5 separate regions of the Homo sapiens genome follow, and regions 2, 3, 4 and 5 are each linked to region 1. Evidence: promoter capture Hi-C in 16 types of primary human blood cells and fetal thymus (Javierre and others, 2016). All regions are on one chromosome and are shown on one strand. The core of a region is centred on a gene start or on the middle of the fragment in contact, and the rest is flanking DNA. Distances in the headings are between cores, read along the strand shown. Region 1 holds the start of KRT10 (keratin 10). Region 2 has its middle 12 kb from the start of KRT17. Region 3 has its middle 1.7 kb from the start of LINC00974. Region 4 has its middle 5.7 kb from the start of KRT19. Region 5 has its middle 6.2 kb from the start of EIF1.

Region 1 (2,700 bases), core at 137-2,636:
GGGAGGCTGAGGCAGGAGAATGGCGTGAACCCGGGAGGTGGAGCTTGCAGTGAGCCGAGATGGCGCCACTGCACTCCAGCCTGGGCGACAGAGCAAGCCTCCGTCTAAAAAAAAAAAAAGAAAGAAAGAAAGAAAGAAAGAAAAGAAATAATAATAACCACCATTCCTATCTCAACAGCTTGTTCTAGAAATTTTTAAAGCACAGTATCACAAACAGCACTACATAATTGTAAAACATGTATGAATATATACATCCAAACAACAGCAATGTCATAGCCTATGGGTAGATATAATCTTATACAATGTACCAAAATCCCAATTTACTTCACTAGACAAACTGTTATACCAAATTCTGTACACAGTATATCCAAGAAAATGTGTTGTTTTTATTGAGAAACTGAACCTAGCTTGGGAACACATGTGCACAGTCTAGTTCATAATATTTGGTGCAAGTATCATTCTCTAATATAGATTTACATTTTTGCAAGCAAATTTTTACTTGCAATCATAACATATCCAAATTTTCCCTTTTTACTCAATCAGAACTTAGTGTAAAGTACTACAAGTTAGTTCTTCGGATTTCATGCTAAGAAAATAATGCAGATTTTCTGCATTATTATGGTCTTCACAGAAACCTTAACTATGATGAATTTAAAAGTGCAAAATAATCCAGGATAACTTTATGATTTCAGATTTTTTAATGTTAAAAATAATGCCATCATTAATTAGAAAATTCTAAAATCATTACTTCCACTTTCTTAGGCAAAATATCAATATACTCTCATTTGCCAAATAAATTAAAAGATCTCCTACAAACACAATCTCCTAAATTGTGGTTTTATGGCTTTAATGTTTTATGTGTGGCAACTATTGATGCTAGTTAAATTTTTAGAAACTTTTTCTTTTTGATTCCCTACAGTTGTCTACAAGAACCTTATTGTAGCATGATCCTGCCAGACTTTATGCTATTTGTTGCTCCAATTAAAACTGTTTAAAACATGAATTTGAAAAATCTTATTTTAACTATAATTTTGTAGCTGAAACTTTTTTTTCTAAACTTTGCAAACATTCTATGCAACCTGAATTAGTGCTGAGAAAAATGGATCTTAACGGTTGCTCAATGTTCTTCAACAGGTGAAAAGCATAATAAAACATGCTCATCTGAACTCCACCCATTTTCAATTTCAACATAGCAAACCTCCTGTTTATTCTTAGGGCAAATTCAAAATTGTACATATTAGGATTGGTTATTACTGAAGATAATTTATGCAATCATAAGCCAAAGATGCTAAGTTGGCAAAAAGAAAACAATGTAAGTAAGCAAACTCTAACACATGTGGACACACCCTCTCAGTATATAAAGGCTTGTCACTGTCCTTGGTAGCAGGCACTCCCTGGGCTAAACAGCATCACCATGTCTGTTCGATACAGCTCAAGCAAGCACTACTCTTCCTCCCGCAGTGGAGGAGGAGGAGGAGGAGGAGGATGTGGAGGAGGAGGAGGAGTGTCATCCCTAAGAATTTCTAGCAGCAAAGGCTCCCTTGGTGGAGGATTTAGCTCAGGGGGGTTCAGTGGTGGCTCTTTTAGCCGTGGGAGCTCTGGTGGGGGCTGCTTTGGGGGCTCATCAGGTGGCTATGGAGGATTAGGAGGTTTTGGTGGAGGTAGCTTTCGTGGAAGCTATGGAAGTAGCAGCTTTGGTGGGAGTTATGGAGGCATCTTTGGAGGGGGCAGTTTCGGAGGTGGCAGCTTTGGTGGGGGCAGCTTTGGTGGAGGCGGCTTTGGTGGAGGCGGCTTTGGAGGAGGCTTTGGTGGTGGATTTGGAGGAGATGGTGGCCTTCTCTCTGGAAATGAAAAAGTAACCATGCAGAATCTGAATGACCGCCTGGCTTCCTACTTGGACAAAGTTCGGGCTCTGGAAGAATCAAACTATGAGCTGGAAGGCAAAATCAAGGAGTGGTATGAAAAGCATGGCAACTCACATCAGGGGGAGCCTCGTGACTACAGCAAATACTACAAAACCATCGATGACCTTAAAAATCAGGTAAGAGGTATTTTTAAATCCAGCTTTAAGTATCTTGTCCATGTAATCCAGACAGATGAATCTTAAATTAAGCACAATGTGGCTGTTCACTATGCTTACCCATGTTACTTTCTTCCTTCAAAAATAACCCAGTCTCATCAAAGATAAACATCTGTGAAACTATGGTCATGGCAATCTTCATCCAGCAAGTGTGCTACTTGTCTTAAGAGGATGGGAGATTTACTAAGCACTTTTGAGGTTTTAATGAGCATACAATGAGTCCACAGTTAAAATATGCTAGGCTATTTACAAATGTAGAAACTGAAAAAAAAAATCATGATATGAATCAGAACAAAATGTTATTCAGACTGATAACAAGCCATATTCAGTACCAACATGGCAAGAAAAATAAATTTTCCAGTATGAAAATGGGACACTGCTTGCCTCTAAGGAATTTCTGAATTGTACCTATTGTGTACCAGTTCAGAGTGTATTTATTTATTAGTATTTATCATGAGTTAAACAAATGCAGGTGTGAGTCAGCCAAAGCATGGCTGAAATACATGGAAATCACATAGTCTAAAAGAGGAGGGCACACTTACAGGAATACATCTATATAATTCCAGTTAGTTTTCAGAAAGGAATAATTCGTGTACAGAAATACAAGACTGGAGAAATTC
Region 2 (2,700 bases), core at 65-2,564, 810 kb before region 1:
TGGCCATGTCCCTTTCCTGGGACCTTGTCTCCTCCCCAGTCACTGCTCAGGCTCCATGACCCTAACAATTCAGCAAGCACTCACAGAGCACCTGCTGCATACAGCCCGCGCTGGTTCTGGGCAGGGGTGTGGGGTATGGGGTGGGCACCATCCTAAGGGTTGACAGTTAATCCTTGCGGGGGCTCGTAGGAGCCAAGGCCAGCTGGGCAGACGGGGCATGACCTTGTCTTTTTGTTTTTTCTTTTGTTTTTTTGAGATGGAGCCTCGCTCTGTTGCCCAGGCTGGAGGGCTGTGGGACGATCTCAGCTCACTGCAACCTCCACCTCCCGGGTTCAAGCGATTCTCCTGCCTCAGCCTCCTGACTACCTGGGATTACAGGTACTACCACGCCTGGCTTATTTTTGTATTTTCAGTAGAGTCGGGGTTTCACCATGTTGGCCAGGCTGGTCTCAAATTCCTGACCTCAAGTGATCTGCCTGCCTCGGCCTCCCAAAGTGTTGGGATTACAGGTGTGAGCCACTGATCCTGTCCAGACCTTGTCAACCTTGTCAATATCAATATGCATCTATTGGCTGGGCGTGGTGACTCACTCCTATAATCCCAGCACTTTGGGAGGCAGAGGCAGGAGGACTGCTTGAGCCCAGGAGCCTGAGACCAGCCTGGGTAATATAGTGAGACCCCATCTCTATTTAAAGTAAAAAAAAATGCATCTATTGAACATCTCCTTTCCATAGGGCCCCAGATCATTCTACGCCCTCTGCCTCCCCACAACATAGTAGGGGTGATATTAGGGGACACTGTCCCCAAACCCTAGCTCTGCTCAAATTCCAGGCAGGTCCTGTCTGTGCTGCGCTCTCCAGCATGCTGGCTTTTCTGCACTCTCTGCAGAGGAGACTGAGGGGGAGTCAAGGTGGGGCTGGCACCCAGGGCACTGGGGGAAGCTTCAAGTTCTCCCAGCCACCTCCCTGGGCCTCCCCCTCTCCCACCTGCGCTGGGCTCCAGCAGCCTCTGGGGCTGGAAGAGCCATTGGACCTCTCCTTCTTTACCCCTTTGTCTTCCATGGGGGCCAAGCTGCTGCCGCTGCCGGGGCTGCAGGCCTGGGCTGCCCCTTGCGGGTGCCAGGGATCTCTCCCTGCTGGGGGTGGAGGACAGGCCCAGACAGGATGTGCCACAGCCCAGAGGACCTCTGTGTGGCCCTCCAGCCGGCCCCTGTCAAGCCTTCCTCCCTGGCTGGGAGAGTGGGAGCTGCCGAGGCCCTGGCTTCAGGCCCGGCTCTGATGCCAACATTGGGTTGCCCGACTGCCCGCTGCTCAAGCACCCTGTGTCTTGGTGTCCTCAAGGCACTGTTGTGAGGGTCTCAGGAGGAATGTTTGCATTTTCCTAGCCCTGGCCAGGGAGTGGCCCCACGCTCTGGAGGGCCAGGGAGGCCTTCCTGGGGTCCCACTTCTATCTCTGCTGAGATCTGAGCTGTGCCCTCCTGCCCGGCTGGCCCAGCTGGCCCGGCCTGTCCTCAGCATGTGAGGCTTCTCTGGGTTGGGGGCTAGAGGGGGATTCACAGGCAGTAGAGCCTCTAACGAGCAGTAGCAAAGGGGCCTGGGGGGGGGGTCAGTGGCGTGGGGAAACTGAGGCCCAGAGAGGAAGAGGAGCAGGCTCGCGGCCCAAAGCCTGTCAGGGGTGAGGAAGCTTGTGGGGGCTAAATGGTGGTATTGGGGGTTGGAGGCCTTGGTGATTTTAGAGGCAGAAAGAAGAGTAATAAACTCTCTGCTCCTTCAAATTGGGCCTCAAGACTAAGGTCTGGGTACTCTGGAAGTGGGGTTCCCAGGCAGGGTGAGCACTGGCGGTGTGGGCTCTACGGGGAGGCAGAGGGGTGGTGGCACCCCACGACCTGGCCCCCTCCCTAGGGCCCTGGCTTTGCCCCACATTTGCTGCTGGAAGGCGGGGCAGTCCCTTTTGTGAGCCCAGAGTGAGGCCCACCTGGGTAGCCCAGCTGGCCTAGGGGAGGATGGGGCCTGGGAAGGGAGGGGTTGTTAGGAGAGGATGGGGATGGGGAGGGTCTTGGTTTCGTGTCTCTTCGTGTGTGAGTGCCTGCTGGTGCAGTCTTGACTCTGGCGGCTCAGGTGAGCACGGGTTTTACTGGGTCTCTCTCCTCCCCGAAGACAGTCCTGGATTGCCAGGAAGTCCTTCCAGATGTCTAACCTCGTGCTCATGGTGGTCTGACCTTGCTCTCTAGCCTTGGTTTTGAACCTCCCCCCATCCCCGCCCAGCACCTTCACAGGCTGGGCGGGAGCAGTAAAATCAGGGCTCAACCGCTCTCTTCCAGATAGCTCCTGCCATTCCCAGCTGGCACAGTCCCCAGCTGGCACTTTCCGTGAGAGACCACCCACTATCTGAGCAGGAAGTCTTTCCAGCAGTGTGGTCTCATCTGGGAGCTCTGGGCCACATGGAAAACCCAACTCCCTCCCTGTCCCCGTATGCGGGCAGAGAGCCCAGGCCACCCATGCACTTCTCTCCCCTCTCCTGTTCCGCGGGCCCTGGCTGCCCTGGGAAGCTCCACATTCAGACAGGCCTGGTGCAGACGCCGGTGTCCTGGCAGCACCTAAATCATTAGTGCCGCGGAGATTAGGATACTAATCTCCTTGTTGGGTGGAGCGGTGCCAGCCACCAGCCTGCGGATCATGCTGCTCTTTTGCAGGGGCCGTT
Region 3 (2,700 bases), core at 173-2,672, 730 kb before region 1:
GTTGGGTTCACTGAGAAGGTAAAACATAAGCAATGACTTTGCGATGGAATAGTTGCCCTGACGCCCTTCATGGGCGGGAACTGGAGCACTTTGTTTTTTGTTTTTGTTTTGTTTTTTTTTGAGACTGAGTCTCGCCCTGTTGCCCAGGCTGGAGTGCAGTGGTGAGATTTCAGGTCACTGCAACCTCCGTCTCCCGGGTTCAAGTGATTCTCCTGCCTCAGCCTCCCGAGTCGCTGGGATTACAGGCACGGGCCACCAAGCCCGTCTAATTTTGTATTTTTAGTAGAGATGGGGTTTCTTATGTTGGGATTACAGGCACACACCATCACGCCCAGCTAAGGAGCACTTTGTTTCACTCAGCCTGTTGCTGGCCACTCCTTGTGGGAGTGAGTGTGTGAGCAAGTGTGGGAACCGGAGCAAATGAACGCTGGAACCAGCCGGTTGCTCCTCTCTGGCAGGAGCAGGCTCTGTTCGGGCCCTGCAGCAGCGTCCCTATTCTTTCAGCTGTGCTGTCAGGGGATGGCCAAATACCAACCAGTTCAATGGAGGTTCAGGGTGGCAGCCCCTGCCTTCTTGGCACCCAGGTTCTTGTCTGGCGTCCAGGAAGAAGAATCAGGTCACATAAACTGTTTGAAAGGTGACGAATGCAAAATACTTTACTGGGTGTTGGGTGGCTCTCAGTGGAAAGGGAGGATGGAAAGGTGATGGGATGGTGATCTTTCCCTGAAGCCCCACCGTCTCCGGCAGGGCCCCTCTCCAAAGCTGCACCATCTGAAGTTAGCCAGATCTATCCACAGTCTCCGATGCTCAGTTGCTTTTCTGCTCGCCGCTCAGCTGCTTATATCCTCAGTGCTCAGCCGCTTGTGTTGCTCTGCCAGCTGAAGTCTTTTATGGGCACAGCATGTGGGCAGGCAGGCCAAAAAGGTAACATTTTTGGGGAAAATGGGGTCCTTTAGGGCCGAGGTTCCAGGCTTAAGGGTAGGGTTTAGCCAGGAGCCCAGCCCTTCTGTATCAACTTGACGGAGTGAGGGAGGCAGTCAAGCGTGTGTGGGGACCACTCCAGGCACAGCAGCTAGTGCTGATGATCATCCTAACACACAGTGCCTTGAGCAGAGGAGTGACAGGCCACTTGATGAGAGGCTGCGAGGCTAGGAGCAGAAACAGAGAGCCCAGTGTGCAGGGAGGTGAAGAGCCCCTGGCACTCAGAGTGAAGACGGTCAGAGGTGGCTGGATTCTGAGCATCATCTGAAGAAAGCACTGCCAGGAGTTCTTGAAGGACTGCATATTGTAAAAGAAAGAAGTCAAGGAGGTCTCTGAGTCTTTTGTCTGAGCAACTGGATGATAGGAGTTGTGGGATGGAAGTTGGCTGGTATGAAAGATGGGGAGTCAGTTTCAGACATGCTAAATTTACATTGTCTTTTGGACACCCAAACGGAGATCTTTTAGAAGTCTCATGCCAGTAATCACACTTGTTACTAAATTCTGTAGCCATCAGGGTTTTTGCCTGCAAAGATCAGAAGCCACACTCTGAAGCCAGTTTGTTAAAGGATGTTAGGTAAGCCATAGACTCTCCAGGAAGAACTCGCAGGGAACAGGTTTGAAGGCAGCACAGCCCGGAGCAAGCCCACCCTTGCCACTATCTGCAGGTGCAGATTCAGTAGCCCATTCCACTTGGCGCTATCACCAAACTTGTGGCGCTGCTGCTTCTAGAAACTGGAGGTCTGCAGTTATTCCTTCCAGCATGGATTCCACCAGGTGCCTCCTTTTTTAGGACATTAGCTCCCAGCTTACAGGCTTCTGTGATGTGTGTGACTGATCATGTGTCTGTGCTCCAGCTGCAAGGGAGGCTGGAAGGCTAATTTCTGGCTTCTATAGCCAGGAGGCACAGACACTAGAGGGAGAATTCCTTTACAAAGGAGCTGGGCGACTAAGTGTAAGAACAATTGTCCACAAGGAAGGAGCAAGGACTAACACTGATTGCGCACTTAATAATGTTCCAGGCACTTCGCTAAGCATTTTATATAAGATAAGGGAATAAACCCTGTATCTAATCTTCACAGCAATCTCATGATGCTGTCCTTGTTTTCATTTTACACATGAGGAAACATTTTTAGCGAGATTAAATGACTTGCTGAAAAGGTCACACAGCTCCTAAGCAGTGGAGACAGGAACTGAATCTAGGAAGTCTGATCCAAGGACACTGGGATTATGAAGCCCATTTTATAGATGAGGAAATTCTAAGTTAGAGAGGTTAAGTAACTTGTCCAAGGTCACATAGCTTGTAAATGATCAAGCAAAGATATAATTCCAGTTTGGCCTGGCTCCAAAGCTGGTGCTCTGTTTCCTGTTCTCTATGGCCTTGAGCAATTATTGAGCCCCAAAAGAATACAGAGGCTAGCAAATCCCATAAGCAGAGGCTTGTCAAAAATACCTTATGTGGGCTGGGTGTGGCGGCTCATGTCTGTATTCCCAGCACTTTGAGAGGCTGAGGTAGGAGGATCACTTGAAGCCAGAAATTTGAGATCAGCCTGGGCAACAGAGCAAGACCCCGCATCTACCAAAAAAAGAAAAAAATATTGGACAGGCATGGTGGCATGCACCTGTTGTCCTAATTACTGGGTTACTTGGGAGGCTGAGGTGGGAGGATCACTTGAGCCCAGAAGTTTGAGGCTGCTGTGAACCATGATCATACCACTGTAC
Region 4 (2,700 bases), core at 105-2,604, 710 kb before region 1:
AATTCCCAGTGTCTACATACTTGATCACATTGATTGGTTTGAGGCATACCTCAATACTGGGTCAATAGCTCTAGCCTGATGGCCCACATGGTGGCTCCCACTCCAGCACCCCCTAAAGATCTTCCAGTTATTTCAGAAAGTCCCCAGGGGAATGCCTCGCATGTGCCCACAAGGTGGCTGCTGTCTTGCATAGAATACCCTCTGCTCTGCCACCAGCTGTAGCCCCACAGATCCACGCCACCACCTGGGAGAGCCTTGTTGTCTGTTGTGAGAACACCCAGGGGGGCCAACTTCAGATGCTTCCAGACGATGGATCCTTGGAGAACCAGAGTGGGAGGGCTTTCCTCAGGTGTAAGTCATCGGCTGCAAGGAGCTCTCCCTGTACTCAGACTCTTCCAAAGTTCTTCTTGTCCGTTTTGCCTTCTTGTTTCATAAAGAAGTAAAACTAGCCTGGCGGACCCAGGGGTGGGGGCACGAGGATGGAAACCCTTTCCAGGGTCTCTTTTCTCCTCACATCTAGTTCTCCCTCTTCCAAAACTTCCTCTCTCATTTCTCAATTCAAGGCTAGGGTTGGTGTGGATGAGCAGAGACAATGATGTCAGTGGTGAGTGCAGGGAGGGGAAGAGGGTATTGACTATATGAAATTTGGCTAGTTCTAAATGTCTGTGGTTTAGTGTTACTTAAGAAATTATTTACTTTAATTAACAAGAAATACTAAATACATTCTTATAAAACTTAAAACCATAGAGATTAAGCTTAGGTTCCTATTGGCTACCATCCTTCAATCAGATTCCTTCCTTACCTATGCATATATTCATACATATTCATATGGACCTTAGCAATAAGTCATCTTTTGAATGTATGTTGACATGAATTTATCATATTAAGTGTGTTGCTCTCCAACTAGATTTACTGTACCCAACAACTAGTTTTTTTTTTTTTTTCTTTTGAGATGGAGTTTCACTCTTGTCACCCAGGCTGGAGTGTAATGGCTCGATCTCAGCTCACTGCAAGCTCTGCCTCCCGGGTTCAAGCAATTCTCCTGCCTTAGCCTCCCGAGTAGCTGAGATTACAGGCACCCGCCGCCACGACTGGCTAATTTTTGTACTTTTAGTGGAGACGGGGTTTCACCATGTTGGCCAGGGTGGTCTCGAACTCCTGACCTCAGGTGATCCACCCACCTTGGCCTCCCAAAGTGCTGGGATTACAGGCGTGAGCCACCATGTCCGGCCCAATAACTAGTTCTTTAGGGTTTTCAGTGTCACTATTCATTGTCATTACTCATTCCATTTAATTTCTAGTCCTCCACAGCAGGATGTTACATAGTTACTGAACGCCTCCCCGCCATTAGTGATTGTTTGTGTCTTTGCACTGTAGCAAACAATGCTGCATAGGGCATCCTTTTATATGACTTCCTCAATACACGGGCCAGGGTTTCTTTCGGATGAACACGAAGAGTGGAACTGATGGCTCAAGAAGTGCATGAATGTTAAAAAAAATGATGACATTGTCAAATCGCTCTGCAAAGTGGTTACTACAACCCACCTCCCACCAATGTGTTTGAGGAGGTTCATTTACTCATGGCTTCTCTACACTTGACATCATCAAACGTTGTGAGCAGGCCAGTCTAATCAGGAAAAGTAAATCTCCTGTCTTCTCCTGAATTGGGGAGAGGTGGTCCCCTGGCTGCCTTAGTTGGGTAGGGGTCTGGGAGGGGGCCTGGTACTGTTGACAGAAACTTCCAGCCAGCCCTGCTTACGGTCCCTCTTCCACTTTTCCTCTCCATGTCTGTGGTGCCCCAATTCTTGAGCTTCTTTAGAGTATGTTGAGAATGTGCTTGCCTCTCACGGGCTTCCTGCTCTCTCCTCTGTTGACCCCTTCCTAATCCCCCAAACCCTGGGTCTCAGCTTTCTCTCATCTTCTGTGTTACCATTTTTGAGCTTTAAAGCTTTTGTTGACATTTCTCATCTTTGACCCTCCCTCCTTCCTTTCCTCCTTCCCTCCTTCTTTCCCTCCCCTCCTCCTTCCCTCCCTTCCTCCCTCCCTCCCTCCCTCCCTCCCTCCCTTCCTTCCTTCCTTCCTTCCTTTCTTCCTCCCTTCCAGCTGGGTCTTACTCTGTCACCCAGGCTGGAGTGCAGTGACGCAATCTTGGCTCACTACAGCCTCCACCTCCCAAGCTCAGGTGATCCTCTCACCCCAGCGTCCTGTGTAGCTGGTACTACAGGTGCACACAACCATGCCCAGCTAATTGTTTGCATTTTTGGTAGAGACAGGAGTTCGCCATGTTCCCTAGGCCAGTCTCAAACTCTTGAGCTCAAGCAGTCTGCCCGCCTCGGCCTTCCAAAGCGCTGGGATTACAGGCGTGTGCCACTGTGCCTCACCTCTTCTTCCATTCTCTTAAAATACTCCTTAACTGTCATATCATAGCAGGGTTTTAGGAAGGAGTCAAAATTGATGTAGCTATTGAACCTACCACATTTCACCAAAGCTAATACACTTCTATACACCCCCCTACCAGATTGTCAGCCTCTTAGAGGCAGGAAATATTTGTATTTACTTCTGTGCCCCAGCCCCTGGCAGCATGCGTAGCACAGAAGCTGCGCTTGATGCATGTTCACTGAATGAATGGAGGAGCGGGTGAGGAAGTTCCTTGTGCTGGTGGTCCCTGGGGAAGCGGAGGCCGTTCAGGTAAGGAGCTAC
Region 5 (2,700 bases), core at 87-2,586, 870 kb before region 1:
CCCTTGGGAACGCTTGCATTTAGAGAGTGGAAGAAATGAGAGGCTTGAGCAGGAGGGGGCAACAAGGGTGCATGGTGCCTAGCAGGAGACCCCACTGCACTCCAGCCTGGGAAACAGAGTGAGACTCTGTCCCCCCACCAAAAAAAAAGTTAAAAATTGGTCAAGGAGCTCTTAATTGAAAAATTGTAAAGCCTTGTGCACAGTAAACTGTGTTTTTACACTACTGCCACAAGGGGGCACCATCGAGGCTGATAAACCAGGAAGGGGGTCATGTTCAGTTCTCCAAATATGCTATGTGTTTTTCTGGCTTATTCATAGAGTTGACAGCAATTGGAATAGGTTCTAAAGTTGTTTTGTAGCTTCTTATGCAGTTTTAGCTGACCAGTTTTCATTTTGTCTTCATAACACCATCTTAAGAAACACTCAGTTTGTCCTTGCGTGTAGCTGTTGCAGCGTGTGGGGATGGGGGCAGGAGGGCTGGGGGGGTTTGGGGTGGGAGAGGAGGACTAAGGAGCAGAGAGCTGAGGGACCTTTTCAGCATAATCAATCTTTCTTTTTTTTGTTGTTGTTTTTGTTTTTGAGACGCAGTCTCGCTCTGTTGCCCAGGCTGGAGTGCAGTGGCACGATCTCGCCCGCCACCACGCCCAGCTAATTTTTGTATTTTTAGTAGAAATGGGATTTCGCCATGTTGACCAGGCTGGCCTCGAACTCCTGACCTCAAGTGATCTGCTGGCCTTGGCCTCCCTAAGTGCTGGGATTACAGGCGTGAGCCACTGCGCCGGCTTCCAGGTGCCTTTTCACCTCTGGGTGTGACTCTTTTTCTCTGCTCGAAATGCTTGGCTTCAGACAGCACCTCCTTTATGAAGCCTTCTTGGCCCCCTTGGCTGAGGATGGGAGTGGGGAAGATTTCGCAGTCCTCAGAGATCCTGTGGCTCTTTGGGTCCCTTTCTGTCCTGCGTCAAGGCTGTGTGCTGGTCTTACATCTACCTACCAGGCAGTCAGCTCCCTGAGTGCAGGGGGTCTGCCTGACATGCCCTGTAGTGTACTACAGATACCAAGCACTCAACAATCTCTGTAAGATGAGCATTTATTTATTTATTTCTGCTCCCACTCCACCGGGAAAATGAGTTACAGAAATTGTGAATGTACAGGTGCAGCTGGTGGGAGGAGGGGTACACAGGGAGTCCTGGGTTCTAGATGAGGCTCCACAACTTACCTTGGGAATGTCCACATCACATTGTTTTCTTTTTTTGAGACAGTGTCTATCTCTGTCACCCAGGTTGGAGTGCAGTGGTGCCATCTTGGCGCACTGCGACCTCTGCCTCCTGGGCTCAAGCCATTTTCCCACCTTGGCCTCCCCAGTAGCTGGGAGCATAGGCATGCAACACCACGCCTGGCTAATTTTTGTATTTTTTGTAGAGACAGGGTTTAGTCATGTTGCCCAGGCTGGTCTCGAAGTCCTGGACTCAAGCAATCTGCCTGCCTTGGTCTCTCAAAGTGCTGGGATTACAGGCATGAGCCACCATAACCAGCCATCATGCCTTCTTTTTTTTTTTTGGAGACGGAGTCTCGCTCTGTTGCCCAGGCTGGAGTGCAGTGGCGCAATCTTGGCTCACTGCAACCTCTGCCTCCTGGGTTCAAGCGATTGTCCTGCCTCAGCCTCCCACCTGGGACTACAGGCGCACGCCGCCATGCCCGGCTAATTTTTTGTATTTTAGTAGAGACAGGGTTTCACCGTTGTTGCCCAGGCTGGTCTCGAACTCCTGAGCTCAGGCAATCCGCCTGTCTTGGCCTCCCAAAGTGCTAGGATTACAGATGTGAGCCACCGCGCCCGGCCCATCATGACTTTTTAATTATACTTTTCTTCATTCAGCCTGAGATAGGTTACATCAGGTGGATAAGGGTGTTCACCAACTTCCTCAGTTCTGTGTTCACAGATACTTGTTTCGCTTGGCTTCACAGAGCTGATTTAATAGATGTTGATGGTTTAACTTGGAATAATCCCATCCTAGAGAATTGGAGGTCCTTAAAAAGCATGAGATGGAACAGCCTAGCACAGAACCTGGCCGTGTTCACAACCTACAGCATAGAAGGAATTCTCTTCTCTTGCTGTTTCATCCTGATTGTAGTATTTTGTGTGTTTGGCCTCCCGCCTTGCTCTAGAAGTTCCTCCAAGAAAAAACCTCCTACATTACAGTCAAATCTTACTGATTTAAAAGTCTCACCCAGCCAGGCACGGTGCTCATGCCTGTAATCCCAGCACTTTGGGAGGCTGAGGCAGGCGGATCACAAGGTCAAGGAGATCGGGACCATCCTGGCCAACATGGTGAAACCCTGTCTCTACTAAAAATACAAAAATTAGCCAGTCGTGGTGGCACGTGCCTGTAGTCCCAGCTACTCGGGAGGCTGAGGCAGGAGAATCGCTCGAACCTGGGAGGCAGAAACTGTAGTGAGGCGAGACCGTGCCATTGCACTCCAGTCTGGGCAACAGAGCAAGACTCCATCTCAAAAAAAAAAAAAATTCACTCAAATATTTTGAACAATGCCACTGTATTTGGAGCCTTGGTTGGCTCCAAGGCTAAATTATTTTGTGTTCATGAAACAGACTGGTTTTGTAGGACCTTTAACACGACAAGCTCCTGATGCTGGGGTTAGAATCATTGCTATAGTTTGAATGCTCCACCCAAACCAAAACCCATG

Evidence for each region. The method cuts DNA at HindIII sites, captures the fragments that hold promoters and counts their contacts. A CHiCAGO score of 5 or more calls a contact.
Region 2: a fragment that was not itself captured here is called in contact with the fragment with the promoter of KRT10 in region 1 in 1 of 17 cell types (M0 macrophages); the score reaches 5.5 in M0 macrophages.
Region 3: a contact is called between a fragment that was not itself captured here and the fragment with the promoter of KRT10 in region 1, in 4 of 17 cell types (M2 macrophages, erythroblasts, M0 macrophages and 1 more). The highest score is 10.4, in M2 macrophages.
Region 4: a contact is called between a fragment that was not itself captured here and the fragment with the promoter of KRT10 in region 1, in 1 of 17 cell types (erythroblasts). The highest score is 5.3, in erythroblasts.
Region 5: a contact is called between a fragment that was not itself captured here and the fragment with the promoter of KRT10 in region 1, in 2 of 17 cell types (total CD4 T cells and non-activated CD4 T cells). The highest score is 6.8, in total CD4 T cells.

Annotation. Positions count from the first base shown.
Region 1 is chr17:40,821,300-40,823,999 of GRCh38, reverse strand. KRT10 (keratin 10) reads left to right here and starts at 1,386. Exons shown (of 8, transcript NM_000421.5): 1 at 1,386-2,041. The coding sequence starts at 1,415. The region is part of intron 1 of KRT10-AS1 (KRT10 antisense RNA 1); the gene reads right to left. The HindIII fragment of the contact is 8,212 bases long and covers 1-2,700 here.
Region 2 is chr17:41,635,395-41,638,094 of GRCh38, reverse strand. It overlaps the pseudogene KRT42P. Among named protein-coding and RNA genes, the nearest start is that of KRT17, 12 kb to the right of the region's middle. The HindIII fragment of the contact is 742 bases long and covers 944-1,685 here.
Region 3 is chr17:41,554,884-41,557,583 of GRCh38, reverse strand. No RefSeq gene overlaps it. Among named protein-coding and RNA genes, the nearest start is that of LINC00974, 1.7 kb to the right of the region's middle. The HindIII fragment of the contact is 4,431 bases long and covers 1-2,700 here.
Region 4 is chr17:41,532,615-41,535,314 of GRCh38, reverse strand. No RefSeq gene overlaps it. Among named protein-coding and RNA genes, the nearest start is that of KRT19, 5.7 kb to the right of the region's middle. The HindIII fragment of the contact is 1,193 bases long and covers 758-1,950 here.
Region 5 is chr17:41,693,687-41,696,386 of GRCh38, reverse strand. No RefSeq gene overlaps it. Among named protein-coding and RNA genes, the nearest start is that of EIF1, 6.2 kb to the right of the region's middle. The HindIII fragment of the contact is 4,888 bases long and covers 1-2,700 here.